Linked DNA regions of Homo sapiens: region 2 is linked to region 1. Evidence: promoter capture Hi-C in 16 types of primary human blood cells and fetal thymus (Javierre and others, 2016). All regions are on one chromosome and are shown on one strand. Each heading gives the region's core, a stretch centred on a gene start or on the middle of the fragment in contact. The rest is flanking DNA. Distances are from core to core; before and after follow the strand shown.

Region 1 (5,165 bases), core at 1,686-4,185:
GATGTTTAACATCTTTTTCGTGTTTATTGAGGAAAGTGGTCTGATAATCTTGTCATACATATTGAGTTTCTACTATGTACAGAGCACTAAACTGGGCTCAGATCAATACCAAAGTTGATAAAGCAATTAGAAACAAATACCTAACTACACTCTATACAGACTACCATTAAGCCTAAATGTAGCAGTAAGTGTTCATTCCAGGCTTTTCTTAAATTGACCTGTAACATATTACTTACTGTTTTCATTTTTTATGAATTCTATATAAATATGGAGGAATTATCTTGGTTTTTAAATTCAAAATAAAAGGAGAGAACTAAAAAAGACAGAAAAGAACAGCCATGAAACCAGACCCTGTAATTGTTTTAAATTGATGGCATAAAACCAAATTACTTACAGGGATTTTTTTAAATACAAATCCCCAGACCCCATAGATCTTCCCATCAGAATGTGCATGGGTGGGATCTTGGTATACGCATTTAAAAAGACTGAATTTCAGTTTTTAAAAATAATCATTAAATAATATTAAGTAATGTAGGCACACTAGGAATTTGTACACTTCTATGCAATAGGAGAAAGTGAATTTATAAAATCCTTACATAACATACTTTTTCCTTTTAGCAGGTCATGGCATCTGAGCCTTCAGCACCAGACTACTGGATATCTACCTAATAGATCCTTTCTCTGTCTAAAAATAGTAGACATTGTTACAGCCAACGCAATCTTCAGTTTGGAACTTTCTAGCAACCACACATTAACTCAAGTTGAAAAGTGCTAAACACAGATGTTGTACCTCCTGTACTCCTTTGGGGATGTAAAGTATCTTCTCTCCTCTGTCCTTGTCTTGTTGAGATGTGCTAGACACTTTTTGAGTAAAAGACTTTCCTTTATCAAGACTCAGTGTCATAAATAAATGGTGTGGGTGGGTGGGTAGTGTACATCTGTAATGACCTGAAACAGTGCTTCTTAGAGTGTGGGTCTCAGACCACCTGTACTAGAAGTCATCAGGAGCATCTTAAAAGTTTAGATTTCTAGACCTGATCCCAGATGTACTGAGTCAGAATCCCTAGGGGCAAGGCATAAGAATCTAAATTTTTAAGTCAGCTACTCAGGTAATTCTCCTGCATACTGAAATTTCCAAAACACTAGAGGAGGTGCTCTCTGAGGTCCCTTCAAGCCCAGATTTTTATATAAGTCAGTCATCTTTACAGAACAGACTGATAACCTTCTAGTTTCGATCTGATGCTCTAATTTCTGAAAAATCCCACTTTTCTTTTTCTGTTCTATTTTAACCTGCATGTTTAATTAATTCACAATTCTCAGCATGAATTAACATATGGCTGCTAGAAAGTTGCAAACTGGAGATTTTGTTGGCTGTAACCTTGTCTACTATCGCTAAAAAGGAAAACAATCAATTATTTCCCGATTTTTTAAAAAAGATATACATTAGATAAAGTATGGTGGAGAAAATACTCTCTTCTGAAATGACCTCGCCAAATAGTCTTTATGTTTTTAACTACGAAGTGAACCATATGCAATATAATCACTTGCACATATTCAATAAAAAAGCAGGGTTAAGCCAAATTTTGTTACCACCAAGAATATTTGTACTATACATAAGATGTTTTCAATAGAAGGATTGAGACTTTTTTTATCTGGCTTATAAAAGGAAATTGCTCCCTTCCCTAAAGGAACACAGAGAAAAGCTGATACATCTTCAGAAATATTCATTACAGCTCATATCTTTTAAGTGAAACTCGCTATCTGGTGTTGATTCTATAAAGATTAAGAAACTTGTCATGGTTGTGAATAACCCAGGTGCTTCAAAGCTACAAAATAGACACCTTAGATGGTTTGATATAGGGGATTTATCCCTTCACCTTAAAAACTCTCAGATTTCCAAAGGATGTCTGTGGCTTCTCTATTACTCAATGCTCCAGCATCCTTCATTAGGGGGCATGGCACTTTAGTCTATAATCCTTAGTCCCTGGGAAAGGGAACACAGTGGATTTCATTTGGACTAACATGGAAGTGACTGAAAAAGTTCCTCCTGTGTTGGGTTTTCTTGCGGAGGAGCAGAAGTAGTGAGATGAGAAGGGGACCCCGAGCAATAAATGGTGCTCCATTGGGTTGGAGGTGGGCATCATAAAATTTAAAGAAGGTTCAAACAGGCAACCTTTTAAGTCATTACCTGCAACCCACCCTCTTACCTGCTTATCACACAGGATCAGTAATTCTTTGCTTTCTGGCTGTTCCTAATGCCCACATGAGAAAAATAAATTCACTTCCCCCCCACCACCCATGTAACAGAAAATATGCACACACCAAGAAAGGAAACTTCGCTCTAGCATGAGAATATTATACCAGCTGAGACAAATTTATTGAGATTTTGATAGACATATCCATGACTTCATCACAAGTCATGAGTGTCATGGAAAATTCAAAAGTAGCTCATGACAAGTGGGAGGTCAAATTTCCGAAAATGTCCCAGAGAACATCAGCCAGGGGAGGCAGCTTGAGGAAGCGTCTGCTTTTTCATTTTCCTCCCCTGGGACTCGAGGTAAGTTGGAAAGCAGTGTCTCTGAGGTTGATGAGCAAATGAGGACTGAAGGAGTGGATACGGGGGGAACCTGGAGATGTGGGGCTCAGCCTTCAAGGGAGAGAAGATGCTACACCTCGGGGATTTCAGCCAATCAGTAGAGAGCAAATGGCGAGTATCTCCTGTAGCCGAAAGCCCCACAGCCGTTGTAGCCATAGCCGAAGCCATAGCCCACTGGAGAGTAGGTGCTGCCATAGCCACAGCCAACGCTATATCCCAGCGGGTAGCCATAGCTGCCCCAGTAGCATCCTGGGAAGACAGCCCCGGGGAAGTTGTCGCAGAGCATGGTGTCGGGAGTGGAGGGCTTAGGTAGCAACAGAGTGCGTTTCCTCAGTGGGATGGATTCCTAGTCTCAGAACCTTCTTTATATATCCCAGCTCTGGTGGGTGGTGAAAAACACAAAGCCCTCATTTTCATTCTTGACACCAATTTACATTCTAAAAAGCTCATTAACTTGTTTTGCTCTTGCTTATGATGTCTTTACAGTGGCTTAAGAAAGCTCTCGTGTGATGCAATACAGGGAGAAGATGCCTTTAAACAAATTATTTCCCTTCCTAAAAAAAAAAAAATTATTGCCAGGACTTCAAAGCACTCTGTCTTATAGACCCCATATAACTCTGTAAGCAGGTATATAATATCAAGAAATATTCTGAGGTTGTTAGCTGTTATGCAGTCCTCTTGCTCTCTGAATTTCCACAACACACAGTTGAAATTCAATAAATATGTGTTAAATACATTAATATATAAAATAACAAATGGATAGTGAGTCTATCTCAAAATTCTCAAAATTAAAGTATGTCTTAGTATTCACCTGCTTCAAGGATTCTCTTTTTTGGAATATGAAAGACAAGTGCAATGGAACTCATGAGAAAGAGTCTTTTTTTTTTCCTCTACTACAGCTACCGTGTTTGGGAAACTGGTTAAAAGTGTAATCTTAATCATAGTCCCCTCCTAAACTATACCTAACATCACATTTCTAGAAGACTACTTGAATTAATAGTATTGAGATTTTAAAACGGAGTATTTGGATTAATCCTTGTACTGAATTGTCAAACAAATTTAATTTTTTGGCCTGAAACATATTTCAAACTAAACATTGAAACTAATAAGGTAAACACAGAAAAATGAATTAAAAAATTTATTGTAAGATTTAAAATTTTTTTTCTCTTAGATCTAATGAAACTAGATTGTCTGACAAATGTGATGATATTATAAAGGGCCAGATGACAACATGAAATCAGTTATTTCACTTTTACAATGATCATGCACCCCAGGATAAAGAAGGAATGTTATTCCTTTCTAAACAGAGAGTCAGTTCTCAAGCATGAGTTAAAGGAGGGATAAGGCTGATCAAAACTATCTTGGATCATGTAAGACCTGATATATTATTCTCAGACACCTGCATTAAGATTTCTTACAGTGGCACTTAGTAGAGAACTTACAGAACAAATACCAAAGAGGGCATATGGAACAGAAATAGGCACAGAGATAATAGGAATCATTCTAGAAGGCCACAAAACAGATATGTATTACACATGAGCTCTCCCAGATTTTACTTCATAACCCAGAGGTAACTTTGCTCCCTGCTATCAGCAGCTAGGAATCAAAGGCTGAATCCAAGAACAAGATGAGACACTTGGAAAATTCAAAACCATGCCAGTGTTCTAGCCAGCAGTAGACTAATTACAGCAGAGGCATTTTTTTTAAATATAGATATATATATAATTTTTTTTTGAGGCAGAGTCTTGCTTTATTGCCCAGGCTGGAGTGCAGTGGTGCAATCTGGACTCACTGCAACCTCCACCTCCTTGGTTCAAGCGAGTCTCCTGCCTCAGCCTCCCGAGTAGCTGGGATTACAGGTGCATGCCACTGCGCCAGGCTAATTTTTGTATTTTTAGTAGAGACAGGGTTTCAGCATGTTGGCCAGGCTGGTCTCGAACTCCTGACCTCAAGTGATCTGCACATCTCGGCCTCCCAAAGAGCTGGGATTACAGGCGTGGGCCACCGCGCCTGGCCTAAATTTTTTTATTTTTAGTTTTTGTGAGTGCATGGTAGGTTTATATATTTATAGAGTACATAAGATGTTTTGATACAGATATGCAATGCGTAATAATCACATTCTGGAGAATGAAAACACCTACAGTACCCTGCTTCGTGAGCAAACCTGGATGGCTGCCTATGGGGATTCAGTAATTAAAATTCAAACACGATATGTGGCTTATAGCTAAACAAGTTCAGGGAATTGAAATTAGATTTATTCCCAAAACATAAAGGTATTCAACCACAGATCATTCCCTAAAAATCATAGAATGATTTACATACTATTTCTACTGGCATCACATTGCTGTGTTTCATGATAGAAAAGCTGGTAATGTTAGGGAAAAAAGAAAAATTAGACAAAAAATAGCATTGTATAATGGATAATTTAAAATTTTTGAATTAATATTGCCAAAGGTCAATTATGTTGCTCTATTTAAAAGAATTCTCCCATTCGCCTACCCAATCTGACAAGATGCTAGCTTTGCCTTCTGCAGCACAAAACCTAGCTCTGAACATGAATAGTAATTAA
Region 2 (5,757 bases), core at 1,173-3,672, 260 kb after region 1:
CAACTACAAAGTTCATCGCCAACTGAAATGTATTAATCAAATAATTTTTATATGTGATAGGTGGTTATGGGAACCTCTTTTATAAAGGAAACGAAGTTAAAACCAGAGGATCACTTAAAATTGGGGTGTACCCACGTTTATTTTGTCAAGCTCCAGCATCTGTAATCCCAGATATTTGGGAGGCTGAGGCAGGAGGACTGCTTGAGCCCAGGAGTTTGAGGCTGCAGTGAGCTATGATCATGCCACTGCACTCCAGCCTGGGCCACAGAGGAACACTCTGTCTCTAAAAATGAAAAAGAATATTTTATCAAGCTCAGCATCCTGAATCCCACTCAGAAGGCTACTGCCCCCATGATTCCTTAGGGCTTTAGCCTCAGAGTGAAGCAATGTGGGAGCCTTCCCTAGAAAAATCAAATTTCTATGATTTGGTTTTTGAACAAAATAAGTAACAGAGGAGAAGAAAGAAAAACAGAGAAGACCAGAGGAGAAGAGGAAATGAGAGGGAAAGGAAAGGGAGGAGAGGAGGAAAAAGAGAGATGGTAGATAAAAATTTTCAGGGCATGCTTCCTTAGGAAGCAAAAACTTAGGCAACGCTTGCATCCGGTTTTCCTGAGGAGTGCAACACACTGGAATCTGGAGTGGAGGAAAGGACAGTAGAGTGGCAAAACATAGCAAATAGAAGGGTATCCTCTCCCAGCTGGGCACATCTTCAAAATCAAGTATATCGTGCCTATCACATGGACAGCCTCCAGATGCTACCCGGAAACTAGAACCACATGGGGAGGGAAGGAGAGCAATTGATCTGTAGGCTTGTTCTTGTCTCCCATTCTCATCAGTCCAAGTTCATATAAGTTGTGTTACCTGGTCGCTCTGGGAAGCCATTGGGAAACCAGACATCACTCCCTGAACACAGTCTTTATCTCAGTTCTAAAGGAGTAGGAAGGCCAGAGCCCTGTGAGCCTGGTCTTAGCTAACTCCAAGTTCAAACTCAACTGATCCACTGTCTCTAGGGATGCCTTTGCAGGACAGACCTTGATGGAAGCATGGGACCTCAAACCCCCCTGGTCTGTCTTTAGCTACTACATTCAAGGCCCCAGGAACTTAGTTAAGACAATTCATCCCCAGGGAAACTAGCTGGGCTTCCATCTTGCTTCTTCTTGGCCACAGGACCAAGACTCTATCACTTTAGTGCTGGATATGCTGTGGTTCTACATCCATGAGCACAGTGGAGGTCACAACAGCCACATTGCATAGTCACAGTGAGCTCTGTGATGTGTAGGAAGTGAGCCAGGGGCACAGCTGCCCAGAGAGCCCTTGCCACAGAGGAAGTTATGGTTCAAGACTTATGGGAAAGAAAAGATGTAACATGGGGCACTGAGAGGCACATAAAATTGGACCCGATACCAAACCCAAGCACACAGTAACTTGTACATAACACCAAATTATGCCATGGCGATGAAGTGCTTTGAATTTCAGTGGGAAAAAAATCTCCCAAAGCTGAGGGGACAACGACAGCATCAGAGAAGCAGCAGCTCTCAAGCTAAGCTATGAGGGAGAGCTTGTAATAAGTAATTCCCAAAGATGGAGGTTGCGTAATCACGCTGTAATCACATAAGTGCATCAGGTGCTGTCCTAGAAACTTTCCATTAAATAGTCCATTTAATCAACCGCTCTGTCTGGGAGAGTTAAGGATGTCATTCCCATTCAACTAATAAGGAAGCTGACAATACAGTTTAGTGGAGGTCATTCAAAGTAGCAAAAAGAGCTAAAGATGTGGAAGAGTTGACGGCTCATTAAGGAGAAAAGAAAAATATATTTTTAAGGGGTAGATAACCCCCAGACCCAGGAGGGTCTTCAGAGCTGGGCTGTCGAGTTGGAACATTATTTGGTGACAATGAGGCAAGCAGGGAAGGGTTATCTACTGAGGAATGACTTGTGTATAAAGTTTCAGAAGATAATCCTGCTGGTGGCATGAAGAACGAAGGCAGAGACCAATGGAAAGATAATCAGACTTCTGTCTTCCATGTAGAAGACAGAGGCCCTGGTGACCCTGAAAACTTGAAAGTTGACAAGATGGCAGGAAGGGTGAAGACAACCCCGGGGCTCTTCCACGAGCATATCACAGGTGGCCCAGTGCAACTGAGGGGAACTACATTCCCTATTTGTCCTTCTGCACTGATTGTGCAAAGCTCTCACCATGAGACCTGGCTCACCCAAAGGCTATAGACTAGTGTGAAACTTTCAACTCGCTGTGACTCTCCCAAAGACAGAGTGCATGAGGGCTCAGGACCAGCCCTGCCTTAATCCTCACATATCCTTTGTAGTCGCAGAATCATATCACTTGGCACTTCCATTTCCAAGCAGTTCTAGAACTTTCCAGGTGCACTTGCTAATTATCACAGACCACCGGGTGCTGGGAGAAGCAGCTACGGTGATCACAGCCATGAGCAGAGCACAGTTGGGCCCAAAACTAGTGGCTGCATGAAAATGAAATGCAGAAGACCTGTTTCTTTGCAATATGTTATTATATTCACCAGATAAACATGAAGCTCATGAATTATCTTTCATTCGGTAAGATTAGCAACTCTTAGGAAATGATTTCCTACCTGGGATGAGAAAAAATCTAATTTATTATAAATGAAATATGCAACCCTATATGCAAACACTTATAGGAGATGGGTTTGTATGAGCTTTGTGCTGTTACAGAAAGCTAAATTTCCCTGGAGACTCTGAAAAGGTTATCACACGTGGTTTCTTACTGTCAGCCTATGGGCGAGGCAGGGTCTGTGAGGAATGGTCTCAAGCAACAGCCTCTCTTAGGAGCCAGTAAACTGCACTCTCTGGAGTCTGCTCCCCACCTGCCCTCATGCCCTTCTTCCCCTCCTCAGCAATCACAGTTCCAAATCAGTTCCTCTCACTTCCTTCAAGTCTTGCCCCTCACCTCCATTTGAGAATTCAAAGTAGAGTTTAGATCTTTTACAGGTCTGCTGGAGAAATTGGCTCTGAAAACATGACTTAAATTAGAGCTTAAGCAACCAGAGAAAAATATTCAAGACCTAGAGAGAATTTCAGGAGAACATTTATACATATCCTGTTATAGTATAATAGGTGGAATGGTGGTCCCCAAAAATAGGGTCACGTGTGGTGGCTCATGCCAGTAGTCCCAGCATTTTAGGAAGCCAACGTGAGAGGATCATTTGAGCCCAGGAATTCAAGACCAACCTGGGCAACACAGCAAGACCCCATCTCTACAAAAAAAAAAAAAAAACTAGCTGAATGTGATGCTGCATGCTTATAGTACTAGCTGCTAGGGAGGCTGAGGCAGGAGGATCTCTTGAGCCCAAAAGTTCGAGCCTACACTGAGCTATGGTCACACCACTGCACTCCAGCTTGGGTGACAGAGGGAAACCGTGTCTCAAAAAAATGAATAAAAATGAAAAAGATACGTTCCCATCCTAATTCCCAAAACCTTTAAATGTTAATTTATTGGGGAGAAGTATGTTTGCAGTTGTGATTAAGAATCTTGAGATAAGATGATCCTGGATAATTAGGTGGGCCCTAACTTCAATGACAAGTGTCCTTATAAACAAAGGGCAAAGGGAAATTTGAGACAGAAGAGGGGAAGACACAGAGAATAGGAGGAAGCAATGTAACCATGGAGGTGGAGATTGGAGAGATGCAACCACACACCCAAGAATGCCGACAGCAACCAGAAGCCAGAGGGGCAATGGATGGAATATCTTCTGGAGCCTCTAGAAGGAGTATAGCCCTGACCCTGACAACAACCCCATTTCAGACTCCTGGCCTCCAGAACTCTGAGAGAATAAGTTTCTGTTTTAAGCTACATAATTTGTGATAATTTGTGACAGAAACCACAGAAGACAAATACACCTGGTTTTAAGCAGACAACTTAAACCATTGTTAATCATTTCTTCTTCCACTGCCTGCCGTGCCATATACACAGGCCTATACACATTAACAACACTACCGCCAATACCATCATCTTCTGAAAAGTTTTATTTGCATGTCGCTCTGCAGATAATAACCCTTCAGTGCCAGCAGAAGACTCAGTATGGGATTCTTGTTGAAATTGGTGGGAAGAGAGGACTGGGGATTAGTGGGAGCTGTCGGGAGCTACCTTGAGACCACAGAGGGACATCAGGCTGAGATCAGAATCAGCACAGAAAAGAGCAGAACTGAAAACAGAGACATCAAGGCAACACCCCAAAACACCCCTGGAACCCCCGAGCTTTTCAGTTAAGTGAGATAATATGTCCTTGCTTTATTAATTTGAGTTTATTGACCTTTTTTTCACTTGCAACTGACTTGATTCAGGACACAAAGCAACGCAGACCCCAAGAACATAAGCAATGCCTGAGGTTTTCTGTGAGAACAGCCTGAAAGCCAGTATCTATTTGAGTGATGACTCTCATCGGTTTTTGGTTTTAAAGTTAGTCCAAGAGAAAGTGAAAGAACAAATCAAAACATGAATTTTATCTGTGGTTCAGTTTTCTATGATATCTCCCCACCCAGTCCTGGCTACTGTGGCTTTGAGTCACCCATCTTTTCAGTTCAAAGTTGGTAATTCAATCTTGCCTCCTATCAGCATCTCTAGCCAATCCTCCAGCCTTCAGGGAAATGGTGCACAAAGTAATAGCTTTGTTGACATGGGAAAAGAGGAGCAGAACGTACCAAACATGACGTTAACTAGGTAAAGACATTGCTTCATGTCCTGCTGGAAACAATGGTCAAGTTACATTCCTCTTATCTGGAGCCAGAATCCGTCCAAGCTGTTAGCAAAGATACTCAATGTTTGTGATATGTATGGCACTTTATAGCTTATGAAGTGCTTTCTTTTTACATTTATTTTTATTTTTCAATAAAAATGGGGTCTCACTATGTTGCCAAAGCTGGTCTCGAATTCCTGGGCTCAAGCAATCCTCCCACCTCAGCCTCCCAAAGTGCTGGGATGACAGGCCTGAGCCATCGCTCATAGCCAAAATGCTTTCTCATCTATTTTCTCATTTAATTTTCTCTACCTCCAGCCTTCTAATGATAGGCAAGGACAGAATGGTACCCTGGCCTGCTGCAGATGAGGAAACTGAGGCTCAGTAAAGTTGAGTGGTTTGTTCTAGGCCAAAGAGCTAGTGACTCTAAAAACAAGACCCATGCAATCATGATGTAACAATGAATCTAAGGAATACTTCCTTTGCCTCAATAAGAACAATGAAGCTTTGCATCCCCTCCACTATCTCCCAAGTCACTAAACAAAGGCCTGGGTAGGCTTTTCTTTTTTGACTTGGCTGACTACTGTGGTAGATGAAGAAAGAAATAAGTCTATTGCATGATTCCAGAGCTGAGAAAGCCCTATGTCCCCAACTACCTCCTCCCCACCCCAGCTCCCACTACATCTGAAACTGGAGCAAGAGAGCCTTTTATTCCACCATTAGAGATGGACTGAAAAAAAAAAAAAAACTGTGTAACATCAAGCAGGAATTCACCATTAACTGTGAAATCACCCCACAATCATCCCTTTCACCTACATTTCCAATGACTTCTCACCAGCCTTCCATTTTACTCTTCCATCACCCCCTGCCCCCAAATGCAAGGCTTCCTAAGAGCAGACTTGAATGTGAGTGAGGGCAGCAATGAAAACTGCAGGGCACTGGGCATTGGGAGTATGTGTGTGTACAGGGGTGGACAGCCAGGGTAGAGAGAGGTGGGCTGGGAAAAAGGAGGGAATAATCCAGGTACCCT

The links. The method cuts DNA at HindIII sites, captures the fragments that hold promoters and counts their contacts. A CHiCAGO score of 5 or more calls a contact.
Region 2: a contact is called between a fragment that was not itself captured here and the fragment with the promoter of KRTAP8-1 in region 1, in 1 of 17 cell types (M2 macrophages). The highest score is 5.7, in M2 macrophages.

What each region holds. Positions count from the first base shown.
Region 1 is chr21:30,810,339-30,815,503 of GRCh38, forward strand. KRTAP8-1 (keratin associated protein 8-1) reads right to left here and starts at 2,936. Exons shown (of 1, transcript NM_175857.4): 1 at 2,359-2,936. The coding sequence starts at 2,882. The coding sequence ends at 2,691. The HindIII fragment of the contact is 5,395 bases long and covers 1-5,165 here.
Region 2 is chr21:31,074,469-31,080,225 of GRCh38, forward strand. No RefSeq gene overlaps it. Among named protein-coding and RNA genes, the nearest start is that of KRTAP19-8, 39 kb to the left of the region's middle. The HindIII fragment of the contact is 5,615 bases long and covers 1-5,230 here.